Linked DNA regions of Homo sapiens: region 1 is linked to region 2. The links are contacts of gene promoters, found by promoter capture Hi-C in human tissues and cell types (Jung and others, 2019). All regions are on one chromosome and are shown on one strand. Each heading gives the region's core, a stretch centred on a gene start or on the middle of the fragment in contact. The rest is flanking DNA. Distances are from core to core; before and after follow the strand shown.

Evidence for each region. The method cuts DNA at HindIII sites, captures the fragments that hold promoters and counts their contacts. A contact is called where the count stands out against the background at its distance.
Region 1: a fragment that was not itself captured here is called in contact with the fragment with the promoter of ADH1B in region 2 in 2 of the 25 tissues and cell types used here (bladder and ovary).

The regions. Positions count from the first base shown.
Region 1 is chr4:99,365,841-99,371,932 of GRCh38, reverse strand. No RefSeq gene overlaps it. Among named protein-coding and RNA genes, the nearest start is that of ADH1C, 16 kb to the right of the region's middle. The HindIII fragment of the contact is 8,873 bases long and covers 1-6,092 here.
Region 2 is chr4:99,318,868-99,324,552 of GRCh38, reverse strand. It overlaps ADH1B (alcohol dehydrogenase 1B (class I), beta polypeptide), which reads left to right and starts at 3,152. Exons shown (of 9, transcript NM_000668.6): 1 at 3,152-3,239; 2 at 5,667-5,685. The coding sequence starts at 3,222. RefSeq lists enhancers at 2,880-2,986, 5,650-5,685 and a promoter at 2,880-3,186. The HindIII fragment of the contact is 12,641 bases long and covers 1-5,685 here.

The DNA of each region.
Region 1 (6,092 bases), core at 1,855-4,354, 47 kb before region 2:
GCATGTGTAACTGTGTCATAGGGTGACTACATCCAGGCCATTATTGCCAGCCAAGATTGATAAATATGCCTAATAAGTATAATTGTTCTCTGTGTCAGCCCTTGTTGAAGGAATACTCATGGCAATGGTGATCACTGCTATCATAGCTATCACTAAATTACTCATTGTGACTGGTTGTCCCATTTTCCATGGTTTTCTTCTGCCATCTGTGACAGCTTCTTGATCTGTCTCCAGGTAGATGGCTGTGTTCCACGGGTGTTGCTTGTGACAGTTGGGGTCCTCCTCAGCATCAGTCTCAATGTGGCTGCAACCAAGGGGTCCTTGCGGTCCTCCCAGAATCTCTTCCTCAGCATCTGGCTCATGATAAGGCTTCAGGTGTACTGATGGTAACCAAATCGGCTGCTGGTTCTGGCCTGGAGAAACACAAGCATAACCTCTACCTCAAGTTATCATTTTACCTATTTCCCAACTTTTTGTTATTGGATCTCTCCACCAAACCAGTTGTTCCGCTTCTGTCTTTGCAGCTGGTTTCTGTAGATGCTGTTCAGCTGCTGATAGCATCTGGCCTTTAGGCAGGCTCAAAAAATTTAAAGTCAATAATGCTAGATTCAGTTAAATATGGGGTGTCCCATAGTCCCTGTTTCTCCCCTTTTGCTTTTACAACTGCTGTTTCAGGGAGAGATTCATTCTTTCTACTCTGGCTTGTCCTTGAGAATTATATGGGATGCCAGTAATGTGTTTAATATTCCATATAGAGAAAAATGTAGCTAGATCTTGGCTAGTATAGCCTGGGGAATTATCTGTTTTAATGGAAGCTGGAATGCCCATCTCCACAAAACACTGCAAAAGGTGGCATTTAACACAGGCAGAAGACTTTCCTGATTGGTATGTAGCCCAAAGTGAGAAAAGGTGTCCACACATACATGTACATAAGCTAGTCTCTCAAATAAGGGAACATGTGTGACATCCATCTGCCAAAGAGAATTAGGTTCCAATTCTCGAGGATTAACTCCTCCTGTAAAAGATGAGGAATGCACTATTTGGCAAGTTGGACATCACTGGATAATAGCTTTAGCTTCTTTCCAGGTAATGCTGTATCTGAGTTTGAGACCAGAGGCATTAACATGTGTTAAATTGTGAAAGTGTCTGGCATTAGATATTGCAGTAGCAACTAGGTGATCAGCCATTTGATTCACTGCAGTCAAAGGTCCTGGAAGAGGTGTATGAGCCCTAATGTGAGTGACATAAAAAGGGTGCATTCTACTCCTGACTCCTGTTTGCAATTGGGTAAATAAAGTCATCAGTTGTTCATCTGTATGAAATCATAACTCAGCATTTTCAATTAATTGTGTGGAATGAACCACATATGAAGAATCAGAAATCACATTAATAGGCATATCAAAAGCAGTCAATACCTCGATTACAGCTACAAGCTCTGCTTTTGAGCTGAAGTAGAGGGCGTCTGGAAAATTTTACCTTTTGAGCCAGAATAAGAAGCTTTACCATTACTAGACCCACCAGTAAAAACATTCTCAGCACCTTCAATTGGTTTGAATTTAGTTATTTTAGGGAGAATCCAATTAGTTAATTTCAAAAATTGAAACAGTTTCATTTTAGGAAAATGATTATTGAGAATACCCACAAAGTCAGCTAAATGGGTTTGCCAAGTAAGACTATTTATAAAGGCTTGCTGTATTTGTGCCTTCATGAGAGGGACAATATTTTTTCCAGGATCATATCCATGTAATTTAACAATCTGAGTTCACCCATTTCCTATCATAGTAGCAATTTGATCCAAATAAGGAGTCAAAGTCCCTGAATTAGTATGTGGAAGAGAAAGACACTGTACAAGATCTTGCTCTTGAACAATAACATCAGTAGGTGAATGCTGAGTTGAAAAAATTTGCAAATCTAGAGTCTTCTCTGGATCTATTCTATTGATTTGAGCTTTATGGACTTGCTTTTTGATGACTTGCAGCTCTGCCTCAGCTTCTTTTGTTAACTGCTGAGGGCTAGTGAGACTAGGATCTCCTCTAAGGATAGAAAATAGATTACTCAGGTAGGAATGCCTAGGGCAGGTCATGTCCAATTAATTTCTCCTAGTAATTTTTGAAAGTCATTTAATGTTTTCAATTGATCCCTACATATGGTTACTTTCTGTGGCACAATGGTGGTATCATTTACTAAGGTCCCCAAGAAAGAAGTAAGGAGTAGTAGTCTGAATTCTGTCAGGAGCTATAATTAAACCAGCATGAGAAATTAAGTTTTGCAAGAGATCATAACATTGGATTAATATTTCTCAAGTGATGGCAGCACAAAGTATATCATCCATATAATGAATAATGTAACACTGTGAAAATTTTTTACTAGTAGGTTCAATTGCTTGCCCTACATAAGTCTGGCAAATTGTTGGACTGTTTAACATGCCTTGTGGCAACACTTTCCAGTGAAAATGCTTAGCAGGCTGCAGGTTGTTTACTGCAGGAATTGTAAATGCAAACCATTCACAGTCTTGCCCAGCTAAGGGGATAGTAAAGAGTCTTTTAAATCTATGACTATTAAAGGCCAATTTTTCAGAATCATAGCAAAAGAAGGCAGTCCTGGATGCAATGTCCCCATAGGTTGTATAACTGAATTAATGGCTCTTAAGTCAGTTAACATTTTCCATTTACCTGATTTTTTCTTAATTACAAAAACTGGAGATTTCCAAGGGGAAAATGTTGGAGCTATGTGTCCTTTTTCTACTTGTTCAGTAACTAAGTCCTCTAAAGCCTCCAGTTTCTCTTTATTCAGCGACCATTGTTTTATCAGATAATTGGCTTATCTGTTAACCCTTTTAAAGGTATAGGTTCTGGAGGCTTAACAATGGCTGCCATCAAAAATGATATCCTAAATCTTGGCAAGAAGTTTGTCTTCCCACTTGAAGGGCTTCCTTCAAACCTTGCAAATTTTTTCCTAGTCCCATACCAGGGACATACCCCATTGCATGCATCATATGTTGACTTTGAGGGCTATATAATTGTTCTGGAATTAGAACTTGTGCTCCCCATTTTTGTAATAAATCCTTTCCCCATAGATTTATAGGTACAGAAGTCATAATTGGTTGAATAGTCCCAGGTTTTCCATCGGGCCCTTCACAATGCAAAATATAACTACTTTGATATACTTCAGGGACTTTACCAACTCCAACTATGTTAAATTGAGGGGGTTGAATTGGCCACATGGACAGCCAGTGCTGTAGAGAAATGATTGAAATGTCTGCTCCTGTATCTACCAAACCTTTACATTTCTTTCCCTGAATAGTTATTTTACAGGTAGGGTGTTTATCAGTAATTTGATTCACCCAAAGCTGCTTTGCCTTGTTTATTTGTGCTTCCAAATCCTCCTGTTCATTTAATTTCACTTTTCCCCATTTCCACATATGGCACAATCAGGAGCTGTGCTATACACTCTCCTGGCTCTGCTTTCCAGGGAACAGAAGTAGATATAAAAATTTCAATTTCCCTATTGTAATCTGAATCAATGACTCTGATATGTACTTGCACTCCTTTTAAATTTAAACTAGATCTACCTAGAAGTAATCCTATCATCCCCATTGGCAAGGGTCCACAGACCCGTGTTGGAACTTTTTGTGGGGGTCACAGGCAGAAGGCTCACAACTTTTGTGCAGCATAAATCTACTGCGGCACTACCGGCTGTGGCAGGGGACAGGAATTGTACAGGGGTGAGGGAAGGGCCTGAGCTGGAAATGCTCTGGTTTGGAACGGGGCCCAGGACTGGCCCCTCATGGCATTTCCCAAATTTAAAAGGAAAAGGCTCAAATGTAGCTATAATATTTCCCTGTTGATCTGGGGGGTGTATGCTAACAGGGAACTGCCAAGCCTGTATATCACCTTCTCATATAGCTTACTGGATTCCTGCCAGAATAGAACTGAGAGCAGTCACTTGAGGTACTGCTCAGTCACTGGGGCAAATACTTTTCACCCAGTGTCCTCCAGAAAAGAAAGATCTGGAGGGTCAGGCCACTCTTTTTCTTCAAAATAATGGGGGGGTGCCGAAGGGTAGGGATGAACCTCTTCCTCCTTTGCCACTTTAGCTTTAGCTGGCAAACAAACCTGCTCTGTCACCTCTTCTGTTACTTTGTTATACTTTCCTTCCTCCTCATCATCAGTGTGAAAAGGTTCCAAGGTGGAAAGAACCAGAGCCCACACTTGTCCCATTGTTACCCTGATGCTTCCGAGCTCCCCTTCTTACTCACCATGGGGACTGCTTAAGAGTACTCAGGTGTCCTCCAGTTTAGTTCCACATTCTCCAACCATTGCTCCAGTGACCATTCGACCTAGGTTCGAGCCCCCACATTGGGCACCGCTTGCCAAGACCAGCTCGGTCATGGAGCTAACCCAGTGGTGCTAGGGGAATTAAAGACACACACACAGAAATATAGAGGTGTGGAGTGGGAAATCAGGGGACTCACAGCCTTCAGACCCGAGAGCCCTGAACAGAGTTTGACCAACATATTTATTGACAGCAAGCCAGTGATAAGCATTATTTCTATAGATTATAGATTAACTAAAAGTATTCCTTACAGGAAACAAAGGGATGGGCTGAAACAAAGGGATGGGCTCTGGCTAGTTATCTGCAGCAGAAACATGTCCTTAAGGCACAGATCACTCGTGCTATTGTGTGTGGTTTAGGAATACCTTTAAGCAGTTTTCTGCCCTGGGTGGGCCAGGTGTTCCTTGCTCTTATTCTAGTAAACCCACAACCTTCAGCGTGGGTGTCATGGCCATCACGAACATGTCACAGTGCTGCAAAGATTTTGTTTATGGCCAGTTTGGGGACCAGTTTATGGCCAGATTTGGGGGCTTGTTCCCAACACATTACAACTGATACAACAGAAATTCAAATGATCATTATTAGGTACCATATGTTGATATACTGGAAAATATAGAAGAAATGGATAAATTTCTAGGAACATAAAACATGCCAAAATTGAACCAAGAGGAAATCCAAAACCTGAACAGGTCAATAAAAAGTAATGAGATTGAAGACATAATAAAAGATCTCCCAGTAAAGAAGAGCCTGGGACCCAACGGCTTCACTGCTAAACTCTACCAAACATTTAAAGAACTAATACTAATCCTACTCAAACTGTTCCAAAAAACAGAGGAGGAGGAAATACTTCCAAACTGATTCAATGAGGCTAGTATTACTCTAATACCAAAACAAGACAAAGGCATGTTAAAATAAATAAATAAAAACTACAAGCTAACATCTGTGATGAATATTGATGCAAAAATTGTCAACAAAATACTAGCAAGTGAAATTCAACAATATATTATAAAGATCATTCATCATGACCAAGTGGGATTTACTCCAGGAATGCAAGAATGGTTCAACATATGCAAATCAGTCAATGTGATACTTCATATCAACAGAATGAAGGACAAAAACCATATATTTCAATGGATGCTGAAAACTCTTTTGATAAAGATCTACATCTTTCAGGATTAAGAAAAAAACCTCAGAAAACTGGGTATAAAAGGAGCATACCTCAACATAATAAAAGCCATATATGACAGACCCCCAGCTAGTGTTATACTTTATGGGGAAAAACTGAAAGATTTTCCTCTTAAATCTGGAACACGACAAGGATGCCCACTTTCACCACTGTTATCCAACATAATACTGGAATTCTTAGCAAGAGCAATCAGGCAAGAGAAAGAAATAAGGAGAATCCAAATTGAAAAAGAAGTCAAATTTTCCTATTGGCAGATGATATAATCTTATATTTGGGAAAACCAAAAGACTCCCCCAAAAAACTACTCAAACTGATAAACAAATTCAGTAAACTTTTAGGACACAAAATCAATGTACAAAAATCAGTAGCATTTCTAAATATCAACAGTGAGCAATCTGAAAAGGAAATCAAAAAAGTAATTCCATTTATAGCCACCACAAATAAAATTAAATACCTAGGTATCAACCAGAGAAGTGAAAAATCTTCACAATGAAAACTATAAAATATTGATTAAAAAAATTGAAGAGGACACAAAAAATGGAAAGATATTCCATGTTCACGGATTGGAAGA
Region 2 (5,685 bases), core at 1,903-4,402:
AGAGCTTGTGGTAATTTGTTACATCAGCAATAGAAAATTAACACACCCTTCTTGCAAACATGGCCATCTACAGGCTGTGGGTAGACACATCTCCCTCTTTGACCACAACCTGGAAAAGCTCTCCAATTTTAAGAAGCCATAAGATTAGATTAGGTTCACCTGGATAATCCAAGCTAGTCTTCCCATCTCAAGACCTTTAACGGAATCACACCTACAAAATTCGTTTTTTTCCATGTAAAGCAATATATTCCTAGATTCCAGGGATTAGGAGTGGACCTCTTTGAGGGCCATTATTCTGCCTAGCACACCGGGGATCGCTGACCCAAACTGAAGCAAGCATATCATCTCTCTGGATAAGCTGCATTTATAATATAGTAGTTGGTGGAAATGTAATATAGAATCGGGCTGGCTTACAGAGACACACACAGAGAGAGAAACAGAGGAAAGTGATGCCCTGTGACCCCTAGAGAGTGACAGGGTTACCTTTGGACATTCCAGATGTTGCTACAGGCCTGCCATGGCCCTCTGATACTAGAACACTGACACTCAATCATGTGACAACTGCTCTTCCCCTCCATTTAAACTTTTAGAAGGTGGGGCAAAGAGTAAGCACAGAGTAGTTGCCAGATGGTATTAAGAAAGATCTCTTGACTCTATGAAGTTTGTGCCAAAGTTCTTTTGGCAGTTCATGGAGCCATGTGTTCACAAAGTGATGCAAGCTCATAAGTGGATATCACATTTCCAAATTCATTAGGGCCTTGAAAACAAGGTGGTAGTGGCTATAATTCCCTGAAATGCTATGTCTACAGGTGTGAGAGAGGATTAAACAGAAAAATGTATAAAAGGGGGTATTAGGGGAGAAAAATGTTTTCAAGATTCTTTGTCCATATGCTGACTGCATCTATACCTCTCAACTGCAACTCATCTTTCTTAATAAATCTTAATAAAATATCTTTCTTTCAAGGCTTCCTCATTCTCAAATTAGATGTCATTCATTTAATTTAGTCAACAAATATCTGAGCACTCACCCTGTGCCACTCATTGAGTTAAGAGCTGAGAATTCACAATGAAAAGACGGAGTAGGGTCTTCCTCTTTTGATTCCACGTTGAACTTTCTCCTGGCACTCACCACTTCCTGCTTCACAGGAGGGTTCTCTGTCTTCTCTACCTGACCACAGCCAATCCCACTGCTAATCTGTAATCCCTTAAAGAGGAGACACCAGATCTTCTGGATTATGGGACTGCTCATAGAACAGTGCGTGTCCTAACATAAAGGAGCACAAGAATTCAACAATCTTTCATTAAACACCTATTGTACACATGAAACTAGGTACAGTTGAAGATTTAAATGAAATTCAAGAACATCTCTGACCAGAAATTTCCAGTAGAACTTAGGAGACTGATCTCTACACTAAATATAAAGGCCACAAAAGAGAATGGGCCCTAAAACCACAGGAGGGATGCTAGTATGACAGGGATGGAAAGAAGTGAAGCATGACTGTGAGATGGCGTTAACATATCTCCACAAGGGCGACCTTGTCCTAGATCTCAAAGTTTGGGGAGGATTTGAATGGGCCAGAGGGACAGAAAAGAAGAGAAAAAGCATGATGAGCAAGAGCTTGAATGAGGAATGGATTCCTCTTTGGAGGACCACAGAGATACATGCTTCTAAAGAGCATAGGCCCTGTATTGGAGAATGGTGAGGAATAGTTGGATGAGAAGGCTAAAGCCAGGTTATCTGGGGCTATCTTCTTTCCGTCATACCTTTCCAAACTAGAAGCAACTAAAATCATAGGACCTCCTTTGCTTTCTATTGGGTGAATGTTTCTCAGTCTTGGTGTGAGTCTCAGTGCCTACATAATTAAAGCTTACTGAAATGTTCCCTTGGCAATTTTAGAGAAATATGTCCTCTATGCTAACATGTTCATATTGACAGACTATATCTAATTAAATAGTTGCCTGTATAGTTTTATGACGCCTCCAAGTGTGGATAAAAGAAAAATCAAACTCCTATGCTTGGAAAGCCATGAGGATACTAGCTACATTGATCAAAGGGTAATGGAAATGATCCAGTGAGGATTTTGCTCCATTTCTCACAATTATTTAAAATCTGCCACAAATGCCTGTTCCTCTACAATGCCTCCCCTGAGTCCTTCATTCTGAATAGCAACTCTGTCTCTGTTCCCAAAGCATTAACTGACCCCTGTGATAGGGCACTTCCCAGCCAGGCTGATATGTAGACTTGGTTTCCTGCGTGTCTTTTCACTATAAACTGTGAGCTTTCTTTCATGAATAATAATTGTAGCTAACATTTAGGAGGGTGCTCCTATCTGCAAAACTCCATGATGAGTGCTTTACAAGGATTATTTCATTTATTCACAAACAGTCCTTTAAAATGACGCCATTATTCATCTTCATCTCACAGATAAGGAAATTAAGGCAAAAAAAATTCAGTGAAATAATAAGTCCAAGTACACAGAACAAGTAAGGAACTGGGTTGGCCTGGTCCCACAAGCCATGCCATCACCGCTGCCCCATACTGCCTCTTGGCACAGGCAGAGGTCATGTCTTATTCATCACTGCTACTCCACTGGACCCAGCTTAGTGCCTGACACAGGGAGGTGTTCAGTCCATACATACTAGTTTTGAGTGGAGCAGAATTGCCAGGCACAGTGATCCCCTTTGCTGTGACTAATTGGGTGTCTGATTCTCTGCTGTAAAGACAAAGAGGCTGCTCTCTCTATCCTACTTCGTTTTTCCTGTTTTCTTACTCTTCTTCCTTCCTCGCCACCCCATGTGCATTCAAAGTTGCAGCTTAGTGCAGACAAAGGGAATACAAGGCAGAACGACCTATGTGGGATTGAAAGAAGAGAAACAAGGAATTCCAGAGGCCGGGGGGGGGTGGGAAGTGAGGAAAAGAGAAAGTGATTACAATTTATCACTTTAACTTAATATTTAAACTAATGAAAACAAAATCTTATCTAGAATTTGGAAGTCAATATTTTGATTGCTGGTTCAGTACCCTTTTATCTGTTTTGACAGTCTGGGAATAATCCAGTGGGTGTGGCTTAAAGACATAGATCACGTGTGGAATTGGAATTGGATGTTACACAAGCAAACAAAATAAATATCTGTGCAATATATCTGCTTTATGCACTCAAGCAGAGAAGAAATCCACAAAGACTCACAGTCTGCTGGTGGGCAGAGAAGACAGAAACGACATGAGCACAGCAGGAAAAGTAAGCAAAAAATATATTACTGTTGGTAATATATTCTCATCAATATAACAAAGAAAGGAATACAGTATTTGATGAATAATTTAAAATTCATATCTAAATTAGAAATGATATGCTGAAATATGATATGCAATATACACCTCAATATGTAATGTATACTGAACTGCAGTGGAAATAAGCTATTCTTAAGTACCTTTAACAGGAATGTATAGAACCTGTGTCTATTAGTCTTTATTTCCTACATTAAATAAATTTACAGTAAAATGATAGTTTATTCCAAGCTAATCATGACTGATTTGTAAATCTAAAGTTAGAAAAGTCTTTAATGGCAAGTTATCTTTATAATAAGAAACCATAATTCAAATGTGTTATTATTTTTATTCAAATTTTTTATGAACACAGGAAAGTTGTCTGACAGAAGTTTGATGAGAGGAATTTGACTCAGAAGACTGAAATATCCTTTAACCTTACTATAAAATATCTTACAAAATACTCATTGATTTCACAGCATTAGAATCATCAAGGTTAAGCAAGACATCAACATGCAAATTCTGATTAAAAGGGGTCCATTATGATACAATTCAGGGAATTTCCACAAAAATCCTATGGAACAGTATCTTCCCCATTTAAAAGTTAATATGGTTTTACAGAAAATCAATGATACAATTTGAATAATAATACAATTTGAATCACTTAGCACTAGGAATACAGATATTTGGTTTTTTCTTCTATAAATTTGTACTTATTTGCTCAATGTGTTTACAGGTGCATGTGGTCATTCAATATAATCAATTGATTTTTTTAATTGTTTAATTACATAAACCTGTGCAACTATGTCCAGTCCTTTTTTTGTGTTAGGAGTGTACCACACTGTAAAATATCTCACTATGATAATTCAATTTAAAGGTTCTGAGGCTTCTCTCTGCATTGTGTGACAAACAGGCTCATATCAATAAGACTGGTTGATGGAGCTAGAGGACGTTATTCTAAGTAAAGTAACTCATGAATGGAACACCAAATATCCAATGTTCTCACTTAAAAGTGGTAGCTAAACTATGAGGACACAAAGGATGAGAATGATATAATGGACTTTGGGGACTGAGGGAAAAGGGCAGTAGGAGGAATAAGACATAAAAGACTACATATTGGGTTCAGTCTACACTGCTTGTGTGAGGGGTGCACCAAAATATCAGAAATCACCACTAAAGAACTTATCCGTGTAACCAAAAACCATCTGCACCCCAAAAACTATTGAAATTAAAAATTAATCAATGAATAAATTTTAAGATAAAAATAATGCATGTAATTTACCCAGCACAGGTCACAATGTGCCTGTCACATCATAAGCACCTCATAATAAGAATCTTCCTACTATTAGTACCTTCTGTCTAAGTATTCTGGTATTTATTTTGGCATTGACCATGTTGAACATCCTACAAAGTTGAAAATTTTGACAAATAAATAATGAAAATGAATTGGCAGAAAAATAAATCTCAATTGAATTTTTAAATTATATTTGCAATTATGTTGGTTCTTTCTAGAAAGGGCTCTGCGAATTATACATGCTTTACCACAACGAAGATGGGTTTTACAGTACACTGCCAAGCACTAGAAATATATGCTGAACTTTATTTTTAAGAACATCTATGGATAAGCTCTGCTAAACAGAAATCCAAGCACACTGTTTCTCCAGTTTTAAAATATACATGCGTGGGTCTGAGTGTATACACACACACACACGTGCACACACACACACCACCAACTCTAATCTCTATAATATTTGGCTCAAATCTAAGCTGAAAGAAGTCTCTACACATAAATTAGATTACAAAACAGGCTGCCAAAGCTAAGTTTCAAATGAGTAGGAAACAAGTAGCACACAGAAGTAGTGGAGAGAGAAAATTAAAAGAGGACAATAAGCAAATAGGGAGAGAAAGAAATGTCATTGTGCGCAGGAAGGTAAATGTATAATTGCTCTTATAGAGTCAGATCCTTTTGGCCTAAGCAGAAAATTGAGCAATAAAGCAGTGTATTTTATGTAGACAGACACTGACTCTGTCAGCAAAATAAAGGTGACTTCTAACTTCATATATCAGCTAATAGTTGTGGGTAGACGAGCATTTTCAGGACGGCATTAGGAAATACCAGGAATAAACACCTTCAGAGAAAAAACAACAACATAAGAATGGCCTAAATAAATATATTCCATTTTTCTCAATGTCTTATTATACTTTGTTTATCTTTCCTTATGTTATTGCTTTTTAAAAGATACTTTTATTCTCTTTATAAACCAGAGTACTTCATTTCCATGGAGCACTTGTTAGGTACCAGACATGGGACGCAATATTACATGTACAAAGATGAAAAGACACAACTTATGACTTCAAGAGTGGGAAAACACTGTCACCATCTCTCTGTTTGATTTTCTAGGTAATCAAATGCAAAGCAG